Regions from separate parts of the Homo sapiens genome. Here all the other regions are linked to region 5. The links are contacts of gene promoters, found by promoter capture Hi-C in blood cells and fetal thymus (Javierre and others, 2016). All regions are on one chromosome and are shown on one strand. Each heading gives the region's core, a stretch centred on a gene start or on the middle of the fragment in contact. The rest is flanking DNA. Distances are from core to core; before and after follow the strand shown.

What was found. Contacts are between HindIII fragments. The CHiCAGO score rates a contact against its expected background, and 5 or more counts as called.
Region 1: a fragment that was not itself captured here is called in contact with the fragment with the promoter of TAFA4 in region 5 in 1 of 17 cell types (M2 macrophages); the score reaches 5.4 in M2 macrophages.
Region 2: a fragment that was not itself captured here is called in contact with the fragment with the promoter of TAFA4 in region 5 in 4 of 17 cell types (M2 macrophages, naive B cells, total CD4 T cells and 1 more); the score reaches 5.6 in M2 macrophages.
Region 3: a fragment that was not itself captured here is called in contact with the fragment with the promoter of TAFA4 in region 5 in 1 of 17 cell types (M0 macrophages); the score reaches 5.2 in M0 macrophages.
Region 4: a fragment that was not itself captured here is called in contact with the fragment with the promoter of TAFA4 in region 5 in 1 of 17 cell types (M0 macrophages); the score reaches 6.2 in M0 macrophages.

The regions. Positions count from the first base shown.
Region 1 is chr3:67,488,978-67,491,677 of GRCh38, forward strand. All of the region lies in intron 9 of SUCLG2 (succinate-CoA ligase GDP-forming subunit beta), which reads right to left. Among named protein-coding and RNA genes, the nearest start is that of SUCLG2, 160 kb to the right of the region's middle. The HindIII fragment of the contact is 7,549 bases long and covers 1-2,700 here.
Region 2 is chr3:67,431,355-67,434,088 of GRCh38, forward strand. All of the region lies in intron 9 of SUCLG2 (succinate-CoA ligase GDP-forming subunit beta), which reads right to left. Among named protein-coding and RNA genes, the nearest start is that of MIR4272, 210 kb to the left of the region's middle. The HindIII fragment of the contact is 210 bases long and covers 1,247-1,456 here.
Region 3 is chr3:67,701,646-67,704,345 of GRCh38, forward strand. All of the region lies in intron 3 of SUCLG2-DT (SUCLG2 divergent transcript), which reads left to right. Among named protein-coding and RNA genes, the nearest start is that of SUCLG2-DT, 48 kb to the left of the region's middle. The HindIII fragment of the contact is 1,866 bases long and covers 381-2,246 here.
Region 4 is chr3:67,400,584-67,403,283 of GRCh38, forward strand. It overlaps SUCLG2 (succinate-CoA ligase GDP-forming subunit beta), which reads right to left. Exons shown (of 11, transcript NM_003848.4): 10 at 148-268. Among named protein-coding and RNA genes, the nearest start is that of MIR4272, 180 kb to the left of the region's middle. The HindIII fragment of the contact is 1,072 bases long and covers 861-1,932 here.
Region 5 is chr3:68,931,264-68,933,963 of GRCh38, forward strand. TAFA4 (TAFA chemokine like family member 4) reads right to left here and starts at 1,284. Exons shown (of 6, transcript NM_182522.5): 1 at 977-1,284. The HindIII fragment of the contact is 2,333 bases long and covers 423-2,700 here.

The DNA.
Region 1 (2,700 bases), core at 176-2,675, 1.4 Mb before region 5:
CTGGATTTTGAAGACAGAGTAAAGAGTAAAAATCTTATTTTTGGCTTGTTTCTGAGGGTATGTCAGTGAGGAGCATGTAAATAGATTTTGAGTGTTCTATTAGGGATGGTTTGAAAATGTGGTAGCTAGCAGATACACCGATCATGTGGAAGACACAAAACCAAATGCAGTCACCAGGACCCACTTATTACTGAGAAGTATTGGCAGGTAAAATGGAACAAATGTGAGGTGGGCAAGGAGGGCCAGATATTCTTGGAAATTTTAATTAACTAGACATCAGGAAAAGATATGCAAAAATCAACATTTATGAATTCCTCACACTGGGAAAACTACTGCCGGGGGAAAAAAGAAAAGGGCCCAGAGTGGTAGATGGTTTTCCATCCTCTAGCTTATGCAGAGTGACTTCCCTAAATAAAGAGCTATTCTAAGTGGAAGTGGAGACTAAATGACCAGCTGATCAACACAAAATTAATCATTCTCCACAGACTAGACTATCAGGTCGACTACCACTAGAAAGAATGGCTGCCTGGAATTTTAATCTTTTCCACTCTATATGAAAAAAATACATATTTTCAAGCAAACCTGCAAGAATAGAAATGCAGGGTAGTCATTTCAAAAATAATGCTTGTGTTGTATAAAGTATTGAGCACTATATTCGAAAATAAATTCCTACAAGAGTTCTACTTCCCTACAAAGAAAACAGTCGCTTGCAGATAAGGTATTTCAGCAAACACATGTGGTGTGTAATGAAATGGGTTTTGCTTTGTTACAATAAATTAAAATGGACACCAGACCTGAAGAATCTCTGAGCAGACAAAGCCAGTTAGGCCTCATAAGTGATCTTAACTCTGCTTGATTTGCAGACATAAACAAAACTTGAGCTATTTCTTGTAAATGCCTATGTTACAGAAAAATGAAACTTAAGGCTAACCAATTGGAAGCAGAAAGTTCTAGTTATCTAACTTATGGTTACATAACTAGAACTTTCCAGGAGGATAGACCAAATAAGGCAACAGTATAACTGTAACCAATCCAGTATTTTCTTTGCTTTACTTTCGTGTTTGCCCTATAAAAGTCTTCCCTTCACATTCTTTTGATGGAGCCCTGGAAGCACTTTTGGTTTGGAGCTGCTCAATCCGTGAATCACTGGTTATTCAAATCAACTCCTGACAATTTTACGGCACCTCAGTTTAAGTTTAAACAGCTCTGTGCCTCAGTTATACGCATGTATCTGAAAGAAAACAGGATATTCTTCTTTGTACTTAAATAAACTCTAAATGTGCAATAATTTAAAAATATGAGACAGCACAAGTGAATCCTAAAATATATTAAAACGTAAGGCATTTGCATATACCTGATTCTGAAAATATGGCATGCAGTTTTACTTCTCTGGCTTCACATTCTAAAGTTTCTGAAACATATACCATAGAGCACAAAAAGAGCTGGCCTCTTCTCAAATTTATAACAAATTATATTTTGTTCTTCTTTCAAACATGAATTTAATCCTCCCTTTATTAACTGTTTCCTTGGTTGTCTGAGTAGAGAATCATTGTAAGCTGAGTCACTTACACCTTCCATCAATTTCAAAACAACACATGAAGTAACACTGATTATCACTGAACCTGTATCAGACACCTCCCATTTCTGAGATGTGCATTTATTCTAAATCTAAGTTTTGGAAGTGATAATGGAATGAAACACTCAGAAAATATAAAAAGCCAAAGTTTTCACTATGCTTTAGAAAGGTTTGCAAGTTGGTACTTAAAACAATGCTTTAAGGTATTATTTTCATGTCTATAGATGAGGTAATACAAGTTTACAGAGTATATTCAAATGGCTAATAAATACATGAAAAGGTGCTCAACCTCATTAGTCATGACAGAAAGGCCATAATGAGATAATGCCTCATACTTACCTGAATGACTAAAATTGAAAAGACTAACCAGTAGCAAAAGTAAAGTAAAAGATAACAAATGCAAAAGAGTATACAGTACATGATTCCAGTGATATTAAGTTTAAAAATAGGTAAAACAAATCTGTGATATTAGAAATTACCTTTGAGGGCCGAACACAGTGGCTACTGCCTGTAACCCAAGCACTTTGGGAGGCCCAGGCGGGAGGACCCCTTGAGATCAGGAGTTTGAGACCAGCCTGCGCAACAAGGTAAACCCATCTCTACTAAAAATACAAAAATTAGCCGGGCATGGTGGCAGACGCCTTTAGTCCCAGCTACTCAGGAGGCTAAGTCAGAAGAAAAAAAAAAAAAAAAGAGAGAAAAGAAAAGAAATTACCTGTGGAGAGAAAGCAGGGTAGGAAAATGATGGGGACTGCATGAGGAGGAGGCTTCCAGGATCCCTGTTATGTTTTATTTCTTTTTCTTTTACTTTTTTTTTTTTTTTTTTTCCAGACGAAGTCTCGCTCTTGTCTCCCAGGCTGGAGTGCAATGGCACAATCTCGGCTCACTGCAACCTCCGCCTCCTGCGTTCAAGCAATTCTCCTGCCTCAGCCTCCCAAGTAGCTGGAATTATAGGTGCCTGCAACCACGCCTGGCTAATTTTTGCATTTTAAGTAGAGACGGGGTTTTACCATTTTGGCCAGGCTGCTCTTGAAATCCCGACCTTCTGCCCACTTCGGCCTCCCAAAGTGCTGAGATTACAGGCATGAGCCACCGCATCCAGCCATGTTCTATTTCTTGATCTG
Region 2 (2,734 bases), core at 102-2,601, 1.5 Mb before region 5:
CATGATTATCTCAATAGATGCAGAAAAGGCCTTTGATAAAATTCAACACCCCTTCATGCTAAAAACTCTCAGTGAACTAGGTATTGATGTTTACTGTGACACTATTCACAATAGCAAAGACTTGGAACCAACCCAAATGTCCATCAATGATAGACTGGATTAAGAAAATGTGGCACATATACACCATGGAATACTATGCAGCCATAAAAAAGGTTGAGTTCATGTCCTTTGTAGGGACATGGATGAAGCTGGAAACCATCATTCTCAGCAAACTATCACAAGGACAGAAAACCAAACACCGCATGTTCTCACTCATAGGTGGGAACTGAACAATCAGAACACTTGGACACACGGTGGGGAACATCACACACCGGGGCATGTCGTGGGGTGGCGGGAGGGGGGAGGGATACCATTAGGAGATATACCTAATGTAAATGATGAGTTAATGGGTGCAGCAAGCCAACATGGCACATGTATACATGTAACAAACCTGCACGTTGTGCACATGTACCCTAGAACTTAAAGTATAATAAAATAATAAAAGAAAACCTAAGTTAAATACAAACAAATAATAATTACTTAGGGGTCAGCAGCTGGTGGCTCAATTGGGCACTGGAGACCATGTTTGTTCTCTTTGGGTGGTACATTGAGGGTGTCTAACCTTAAGAAATGCAGGAAGGGGATGATGGATGGTCTGTTCAGATTCCCTTTGTCCCAACTGCATTTTTCAGCTGTCAAGAGATACTGTTAGCAGGCACTAGATTTAACAATGGGAGGCTAGATGGGAGGCTAACTACCTTTTGAAGTACACGCCTGGCAGATGACAACCAGCATCTTTACTTTTAAACCCAGCAACAGTGGGTTGCTAGGCATTGTTTTGCTGGTTTATTAAACTTGTTTCAGTAAAGAAGCAGCAAGTAACTGGCTGCATATTATACTAGACTAAGAAGCTTTTTACAGACAGCAATTGGTCTTAGTAAATGCTGTATCCTGCAGGTCTAGGACAGTACTAGAGGTGATAATATTAATTTATGATCAACAAGGTCTGATTTGAAATACAAAGTCACATGCACTGGTGAAACCTTGGGCAAACAGCTGCGAAGGAAACTTTCTGTGGTCAACTATAAACGTTCCAGCTATACAATATTATATTCCAAATTTGTTGTTTATTTTTTATCTAATTTCTATCCTTATGCCTAGAGCTTCCTTTTTCTTTACACCTGGTAAAATCCTGCCTATCCTTAGAAGCTTCATTTAAGATTCTTCTTGTGACCTCTCCCGGCATAATTACCCTTCACATTCATCCAACATGGTGACCCCGATCTGCTAGGTTCTAAGCCTCCAGTTGTTACCATATGCCATCCCATTTTACCTTTCTGTCTTTTATATCCCTCTGGTTCTTCTATCAGAATATAGAGAGAATTATCAAATAATCACATTGTATGACTCGCTCTCAAGCTTTTGAATTTGCTGAAGGACGAAATGGAACCTTTGTTATTTCGGTTACCCTTTCACCTAGAAGGTCCTTCCGTAACACCACAGTCAGAATTTTAAAACGAAGAGGAACTCCATACTCTTTTATTGGATTGAATTAAATTGAAGGAATAACTAATTTCTCTCGAGCTTCCTGATCTTAAAATCCTCTGAATAGGTAAGAAATAAAGCTGAGATGGTATCTTGTTATGCTGTACTGTTCTCCCCTATGTTAGGGGAAAGGGTGTCTATTATTTGTCTTTTGGGTTTTTCCTCACTGTACTTCTGGGGGTTGGGGGAGGTTGCTGCTAGCCATTTCCTCTAGTAAAAGTTCAAAATAGCCCTTCTATAAAAGCTACCCCATAGAACACCACTTTATAACCATTTGAAAAACCCTAAAGTTGACCTCCAGGAGAAACCACTTCATATGGCTTCCCCAAACCCTGTTTAACAAGTTTTAAAATATTTAGCTGGAATGTTACTTCAAGCTAAATATGCTACTGGTTTATTTTTTCATTCCATTTACCAGTTGTGACCTCATCTGTGCTTGCAATTGGCTGAAAGGAACCAATTTTATTCAGGGAAACTTTCGGATGTGAGCCGTGATGCCCACTGAGGATAAAGATAGGAAGGTGCGCACGGTGGGTGTGGAAGGAGGGAGAATCCTTTCTAGAAGATGGGGGAGTGGGCCCAGATTCAAGTGACTGAGTGACCTTTCTTTTTGCTAGCTGCTGTGTGAGGAAAAAAGGCTATTTCTTCCTGCAGAGAACTGCGAAATGAGGTATAAACTGAGTAGCGAGGTAGATGAGCCTACCACATTAGCTGATTAATAAGCAAACTGCTCAAATGCCCAGAGGGATAGAGAGTTCCTAGCAGAATTAATAATAAATCCAGACATTGGGTGAATTAAATTTAAGGTGTAAAGACTAAACCAGGGTCATATTAGCTAGGAAGTATGAGGTGCGGGATTTAGTAAAAAAAAAAAAAAACTTATTTGCACAGAGATGCTTAGTTAGCCTAGCTCTACAAAAACATCTATAAAACACAGCTTTTTAACTGTTTTCTTGCTGGTTTAATAATTAGCTTAATTTCTGTTCACAAAAAATTGTAGTTAAAAAAAAGCTTTCAATACCTACGAGAACTCTGTCTAATTGAGCCATGAGGGCAAATCCAAGAGGCCACCACACATACACTAGAGGTTGACAAAGTGCATGAGAAGAAGCAGGTCTCGTAAGTACTGATCTTGCAACCCCAAATCACT
Region 3 (2,700 bases), core at 64-2,563, 1.2 Mb before region 5:
GAAGTTTCCCGTAATCCTCTACAGCTATTAATAATACAAAACAAATAATCAAAAAGACAAAAGAAGCCTTTTCACAAGACTAAAATCATCTAGTCCAGTTATCAAAACTGATCAAATTCGGCACTGCTCACCTTATATGCTATTCAACTTCTGTTTGACTAATTCTGTGAAGAATAAATCCTCACATTTGCATCTTAGGTTGGATAATTCTCTTGGCAGTGGTATCTGAATAGTATTATTTTGAATGCAAGCATTTTTTATGACTATGATTTTTTATATTGGGACTGTCTATCTTTCTGTCCTACACATTAGTGATACCTCTTGGACATTCTGTAGGGATACTGAAACGTGTCTACAAATGGTTCATGGTCTATTATGTAAGCTTCTTTGTGCTCAGTTGTAAAAAAGGATGGTCCTAAGGTCTTAATTATATGAGTCATTACAATTTTAAAAAATTCCTAGGTAGAAGTCAGGCTATTTAGTTGATTTAAAAATATTTTTGCTAGAATGGATTTCTTCTAGCATGTTGAAAATGCTGAATCCCATGTTGTAACACCTCACCAGAAATTATCAGTAGACCAGAAGGTAATGTTGATTATGATCTCATTTATTCATCCATTCATTCACACATTCATTTACTAAAAAATTACTTACATTTCTCCAGTGCTTAATGTAATGCTTAACATATAGTAGACAATGAATTTGTGTTGACTTGAATTTATTCATATATGCATTCTTTCATTCTCTTATCAATATTTATGGGGCTGCTACCTCAGGCCAGACATTATGTGATCAGTGCAGATACAGCTTCTTGGCCTGTGGAAGCATCACGCCAATCCCTGTCTTCATGTTCACATGTTGTTCACCCAGAGTATGTCTCTGGATCCAAACTGTATCTGCATTTTCTTTATCTGCGTTGATCACTAATGTAGTTCCAGGACTTAACATAATGCTTAAAATAATTGATATATTTTATAGTTCCCTCTCTGAATGACAGCAGGCTTTATGAGGCATTTAATGAGTGATTGTCAGTCCTGGCTGCACATTAGAACCACCTAAGGTGCCTCTTAAAAATACCAATACCTGGGGCTTAACCCAGACCAATTAAATCAACATCAGTGAAGGTGAGACCCAGGCATAGCTAATTTTTAAAGCTCCCCAGGATATTGTGAGCTCCACCCAACGTTGACAATTACTGAGTTATTCTGTGCCCTTTTTTTTTATGTCACTGGTTAATGTCACTTCTCTGGGTTGAATTATATCCCTCCAAGATTTATAGGTTGAAGTCCTAACCCCCAGTACCTCAGAATGTAATTACCTTGTAGAGGTAATCAAGTTAAAATAGGACATTAGAAGGAGTTCTAACTTATGTCCTTATAAAAAGAAGTTCGGATCCAGAGACACACACAGGATGAATGCCATGTGGACACAAAGACAGATATTGGGGTGATGCTACCACAGGCCAAGGAATACCAAGGCAAACCCGCAGAAGCCAGGAGAGAGGGACGGAACAGAGTCCTCCCTCGAAGTCTTCAGAAGGAATCAACCCTTGCAGTACACGTGTATTTTGGACTTGTAGCCTGCAGAATGATCAGAAAATAAATTTCCTTATTTATTTATTTTTTTTGTAGAGACAGGGTTTTAACATGTTGCCTAGGCAGGTCTTGAACTCTTGAGCTCAAGTGACCTGCCCTCCTCAGCCTCCCAAAGTGCTGGGATTACACTGCCCCTGGCCAATTTCTGTTTTTCGGGCTCCCTCCACCCCCGACCATGTGGCACTTTGTTATAGCAGCCCTAGTGAACAGTACAATCAGCGCCTTTATAAATGCGTTTTTTAAAGAGCTAACTTTAAAATGTTCTGCTTCCTTCAGTCCCCATTCCCTTCTGAAAATGGACCAACTCCCGTCTCTGAGCCCAGACCAGATGCTATCTCTCTACTTCTTCCAAGGTGGCCTTATCTTTACTAAGAGTCAGTGTTGAAACATGCATGACCAGCCCACCTGGAGCTAGAGACTTACAGGCTGACTCCATGATGAATAATCAATGTGCGATAATTCCACTTGCCAAGCAAAGCTCGGCGTAGACAGCGGCTGCTTCTGGCAGATCGATAAAGTACTTGAAGACACTTGTTTCAGTGGCTCTTTGAATTCCGCATCATCATTTGATTTGCTCCGATAACATTCAAGTCTTGCCTCTTTAAGTTATTGTTTTAGCAAATTCAATTTACAATTACTTTCCATATGAAAAGCTTAAGAGATTCAGTTTAATGCCTTATTAGCTGTAAAATCAACTGCTGTTTCAACTACGCGGTGTGAGGAGCAGTGAAAAGGCTTCGGTTCTTGGCGAAACTTTCCCTCTGGGCTTCTGACGAGGGGCAGCTTCTTCAGTTGTGGAGCTATCTTCACAATACCTGCTTTCTAAGCTCCTAGTCATTGGACCCAAATTCAAATTACATTTCCCTCCCGTGTCAGGGATTTCTGGGGTAAAAATAAGCTACTTTGAAGACAGGTTGCTCTCAGCAGGGATTTTTTGCTCATCAAATGTGATCCATGCAACAGGCACCTTTGAAAACTCACCATGACGCCGATTTTATTTTTAAATGGAGGGACTAAATGGCCATTACAGAAAGTCGGCCTGAGTGGAGTGGGGGTTGGGGGGAGAGAGTTTATTACTGTTGTTTGAATCATTTATAATAATGTA
Region 4 (2,700 bases), core at 147-2,646, 1.5 Mb before region 5:
GGGAAGTCCTGCCGTACTGTGTTTGTTTCATCTTACACAATCTAGTGTTTCGTTCTGTTATCTCAGGAAGTTTGTGAATCCAGAACATGCTGGTCACCTGACCTTGGAGAAGGGGTGCTGGCACAGCGGAAATCTACCATGACTCACCTTCAAGCCGGACCACCAGGGGCACCTTGAGTTCTAGCTCCCGGCAGGCTTTGGTGATCCCATTGGCAATGATGGCACAGTTGACGATACCACCAAATATATTGACAAGGATGGCTTCAACCTGAAATCAAAAATAAAAAGTTACCAATCAAAATGCTGATCGCCAACAGTCTCAAAAATAACTGGTTAAATAATAGAGACAATTAAAATAAGACTGCTCGTTTTTTTGTTTTTGTTTTATACAGAGCATAAAATACAAAAATGGCCCAGAACATGTTAAGAAAGCTCATATTAGTAATAAATTAATAAATATCACAATATAACATTACCAAATTTTCCCATCAATCACTCTTTTCAACTCAAAATGAATTTAATCATCATTCATTCGTCTATTATATAATGTCTTCTTTTTCTGAAAATATTATTGTCTATTCTTTTTATGAGTAGTATCATTTAAAATTTCTTGCATTTAGGTTTTTTTCCTCCACGATTTACAATTGCCTTTTTATATGTCATGGTGCCTCACACAATATTTCAAAATCAGAAACCATTTATTGTTTTGTATTAAAAGGTAAAAAAGATTCAAATGTTTTCATGCTTCCTTAATACCTCTTTGATATGCTAGAGGTATGTTCTCAAAAATCAGAGATAGTTTAATTATCTTAGACAGCAACCTTTTGATTAAAAAAAGACTCTCGAAATAAAGAGATCCAAGCTTATAGCATAAGTAAGAATGTAAGGAAAGTCAAGCTACTGACTGGAGCTTCTTAGAAATGTAAATTTAAACCCATCACCCATCATGTTAACTTGTTTGTACATATTCCATATTCAAAGGCATGTGGGCCAAAAAAAAAAAAAAAACAAACTCTACTTGTCCTGACTTGATAACTAGGCATAAGAAAATCCTGTATAATTAACATGAAGAACGAGATAATGAAGAGAATTCATTACCTAGATTAATTGATAACACCCACAGAAAAATGGCTGTTCATGAAGCTGGAGGCATCAAAATTCCAACAGTAGAGTCACAATTAAATTATGCCACACTAATTGTAAAGCATATATATATGTGCTGCATAGAATCCTATTATTTCTGTCTGTTAAATTACCTACACCAAACATATGAGAAGAGAATATCTTACATTTGTATAGCATTTAAATGTTTAGAAAGTGCCATCACACAAATCCTTATTTTTTATTGTGAGCCTTCCCAGAACCCTATTTATTAGGTAGGGTGAAGGTTGGCTCTCTAGCTGAGAAAGCCATCGGGCGCATTGGGGCATGTTGTCCCAAGGTCACACAGCTGTCATGTGGCTGTGGCCAGGCCCAAAGCCAGCTCCCTAGATTGTCTACTGATTTGTTCATTGATGTTGTTGCTAGGGCTGGGACCTTGGTCGAGTTACAGAACCTCTCTTGAACATTTCCTCATCTGTATTATGGGAATAAAAAGAGGACCTAGCCCACAGGATGTTGAAAGGCCTAAATGAGGTAATACATGTGAAATGTTTACCACATGGCTTTAAATGTACTTAATGGGTATTTACACTTGCATTTATTCAGCAAGCATTGATGAAAGTGGGCAAGTAAGAAAACCTTTTTCAGTAGACTGCAGCTCATGTTGAATTCAAATATAATGGAAATACAAACTTATTGAAATTCAACAAAAAGGTAATGCCTTAAGAATCAAAGAAATGAACAATATTTTTCAAACCAATTAGAGATTGGGGCTACTCCCAGAAAAGAAATCTCCCATTACTATTCACAGTAGGACAACTGGTAAGCAGAAGCTTGCTTTCTAATGACAGCTATTAAATGCTGTTAGCATTGAGGCTTGGTACAGCAGTAGTTTCCAAATAACTGTAGGATGGAGAGGAACTTGCCAGAACAATAGAAGAAAAACATTCAAGAGCAAGAATGACTCCATGGGGTCCATGATAGAAACTCAGGACCTGCTGAGGCTCAGTAAGGTTTGTGCAGAGGAACTTGGCATTCTAGTAAAACACACATTGGCACCTGCATGCCTCTGCCATGTTCCAGTCTGCATATTCCTTAAGGACAAGTTCGGATGTCAACTTCTCAGGGAATTCTCATTAAATTAGAATCACTGACTCTGTTTAACCCATCTAAAGCTTTACGATCATTTTACAGAGTATAGTTTACATCATAATCTTATGTGAATTCACCTAAACAGGCAGGAGTGAGGGATAGGAGCAAAAAGGAGAGAAGGGGCTTGAGACCCTGTGATTCAATTCTACTTAGTGGGTGAGTGCCTGGAGTAAGTGTCAAACAGGAATCAGTGTTGCCTCAGGTGGCATCAGTTCCCATGAGTCTCTCATGTGTTAGTATCTCGTGTTTAATTAGAGTCCGATGTTAAAAATAGATACTCTTCATATAACCACTTGCGGTTAAAATTTAACTACTTTAGTTGGTGCTGAACCCCAGGAAAAGCCTTCTTTTCTAACTGCAGAGGGATAACTGGTTTTGTTAGACTTACTGAGAAATGAATAGCTGTTGTTCTCCAATGTACTTTATTCTCCTCTTACCTTCCTCTCC
Region 5 (2,700 bases), core at 34-2,533:
AAACCAAAGGGGGGTCCCTGAATCTCGGTGACGGGGGATGGGCACCAGGCTAGGTCTCGGCGAGTCCGTGAACCCGTGCATGTACATACTGCTTAGGAGCTGATTCACAGCTTTACTAAGGCTCCGTGGAGCCCCTAAACGTTAAATGATGCTGATTCGAGAAGAAAACGCACCAGCGGCACTGTGTCTGGCTTGGGCAGCCTCACCAGGTGCAGGAGATCAAGCTTTCCAGTTCCAATCCTCTCCCGAGCTCCTTGCGTAGGGTCAAGGATGCCCTCTCTTCTAGGAGCGGATTAACAGGGCAAAGTGGGAAAAAGAGCGAAAGAAATGTAGAGATGCCACCTTGGTGGGCAAATCTGAGATGCCTCCCGCGGAAAGAGACGCAACTTCCAGACCCGCTCCAGTTCTCCACTTGGGCGGGAAGCTTTGCGCTCCCAGCTGGAAGACGCCTCCCGAGCGCTCGCTGCGCCCTTCAAGCAAGATCCTAGCAACCAGAGCTTCAGGGTGGGGGTGGGGGCGGGGGGACGCTGACCGGCTCCCACCTGCTTGCTCCTAGAAAGATCCTAGCTCAGATTAAAGGGATGAAGCGCTAAGGTCGACTTGTCCAGAAAAGAGCTCACGGTGAGTTCACCACCCCCTATACCAATTCATCGAGTGGCCTCCTCCGCATCAGCAGAGCACCCCCGGGGATTCTGTCAGACATGAACCCCGAAACTGGAAGCGGCCGCTGCCTCTCTCCAGCCACACATCCTTACTTCGGAGTGCCCCTTCCAACTTCGGGTTGCACGCCGACCTCAGCACAGGCACTCTCCCCGGCGCCCCAGAGAGCCGGGATGAGGGGAGCTGCACCGAGCTGAGTTAACTCGGTACCAGCCGAGAGGCAGCGGCTGCCCACGAGACAGCACCTAAATACAGGGTCCAAATCCACCCCCACCCCATCCTCTCGCCCCTCCTTATCCCTTCCAACCCTTCTTACTCGACTAGAGCCGGCATCCAAGTCGGACCGGCGCGTCCGGAACTAGGTACTGATCGCCGCACCGGAGCCCGAGGACGCTCACCGTGCCGCCTCCCCGCGGGAGCCCCGGGAGCGGCCCATCACCTCTGCAGCCTCGCCAGGAGAAGAAAAGTTCCCACGTCTCTACCAGGAGAAGCCCGAAGCTCCTGCGGGAGAAGCCTGAAGCTGCTGCTGGAGAAGCGGCAGCTGAGGCAGGACTCCCGATGTTTGCCCGCAGCCGCGCGCGCAGTCGGTGCGCCCCGTCCAGGGCGGCGCGCAGCTAGCAGTGCGGAGCCGAGCCCAGCTAGCGCGCTGACCAGGAGGGGCCGGGCCCGCCGCGGAACGCGCTGATTGGCCGGGCCGCCCGGCTGCTCCTGTCCCTGCCTGGCCCCGCGGTCCACGTGGGCCGGCCTTCTCCCCGCCCCGCACCCCTGCTCAGGCGGCGCGCCCCCACTGCCGGCCTCCAGGCGCCTCTCCCGAGCGCCTCGCTGTGGCCACCACTCCGCAGGTGCTGAGCAAAAGGTATTCTTCCTGAATACCTGAGAGTCGCGTTGAGCTCCACATAAGGAAGACGGATTTAGGGTTCGGCTCTCACTCGAAACCATTCTCCACGCAGGACCCAAAGCGGTTTGCAAGCAGGATTTCTTAGCCACCCCGTGCAGTAGCACATTCATGAACTAATCTGGCTTCGCGTGTAATGTGCTTGTATGAGAGAGGAGAAAACTCGGCCCACGTATGAATACCTAAATACTTTTCTTTTTTAATGTATAAAATACAGCTGGGGCCGGGCTCGGTTGCTCACGCCTGTAATCCCAGCACTTTGGGAGGCTGAGGCGGGTGGATCATGAGGTCGGGAGATCGAGACCATCCTGACTAACACGGTGAAACCCCGTCTCTACTAAAAATACAAAAATTAGCCAGGCGTGGTGGCGGGTGCTTGTAGTCCCAGCTACTCGGGAGGCTGAGGCAGGAGAATGGCGTGAACCGGGGAGGCGGAGCTTGCAGTGAGCCGAGATCGCACCACTGCACTCCAGCCTGGTCGACAGAGCGAGACTTCGTCTCAAAAAAAAAAAAAAAAAAAAAAAAAATTCAGCTAAGACTTCTTTGACTCCCTCCTCCCACCCCATTCCTAGTCATGCCCTCCACTCTTCCGCAAGTGAAGTAACTGATAATCAGTGTCACTTAATGGTATTCATTTTACTGGGATTAGTTCATCTGATCTCTATTTTATAGATGAGATAACTGAAGCACAGAGAAGTTAAATCGTTTACTGAAGATTACACAGGTAACTAGTAAATCCATGCTCTTTAGTATGCAAAGCATGGCGTCGTAGAGCGGTCCCTTGAGAACACTTTAGAACTGCAGACTTTCAGGCCCCACCCCAGAAGTAGAATCTTCATTTTAACAAGATGCCCAAGTGGCTGGTGCATGCATAAAGTTAGAAAACGTTGCTCTGTACCACTATGCTGCTCACTGTCATTGGCTTGGCTTATCATCTTCTGGTCCTTTTACTCTGCATTGACATACAATTATGTGCCATCCTGCCCCTGCTGCACTCCAAAGTATGTTCACCCTTCTCTGACTCTACCCCTTGAACTAACGTATGGCAGGCCTTCTGCTTCTGTTCCCCGTACCACACATACCATAGCACATTTTACTTGTTAAACAGTTTCAATCTCTTACTCTCTTATTATTAAAATGGGGGT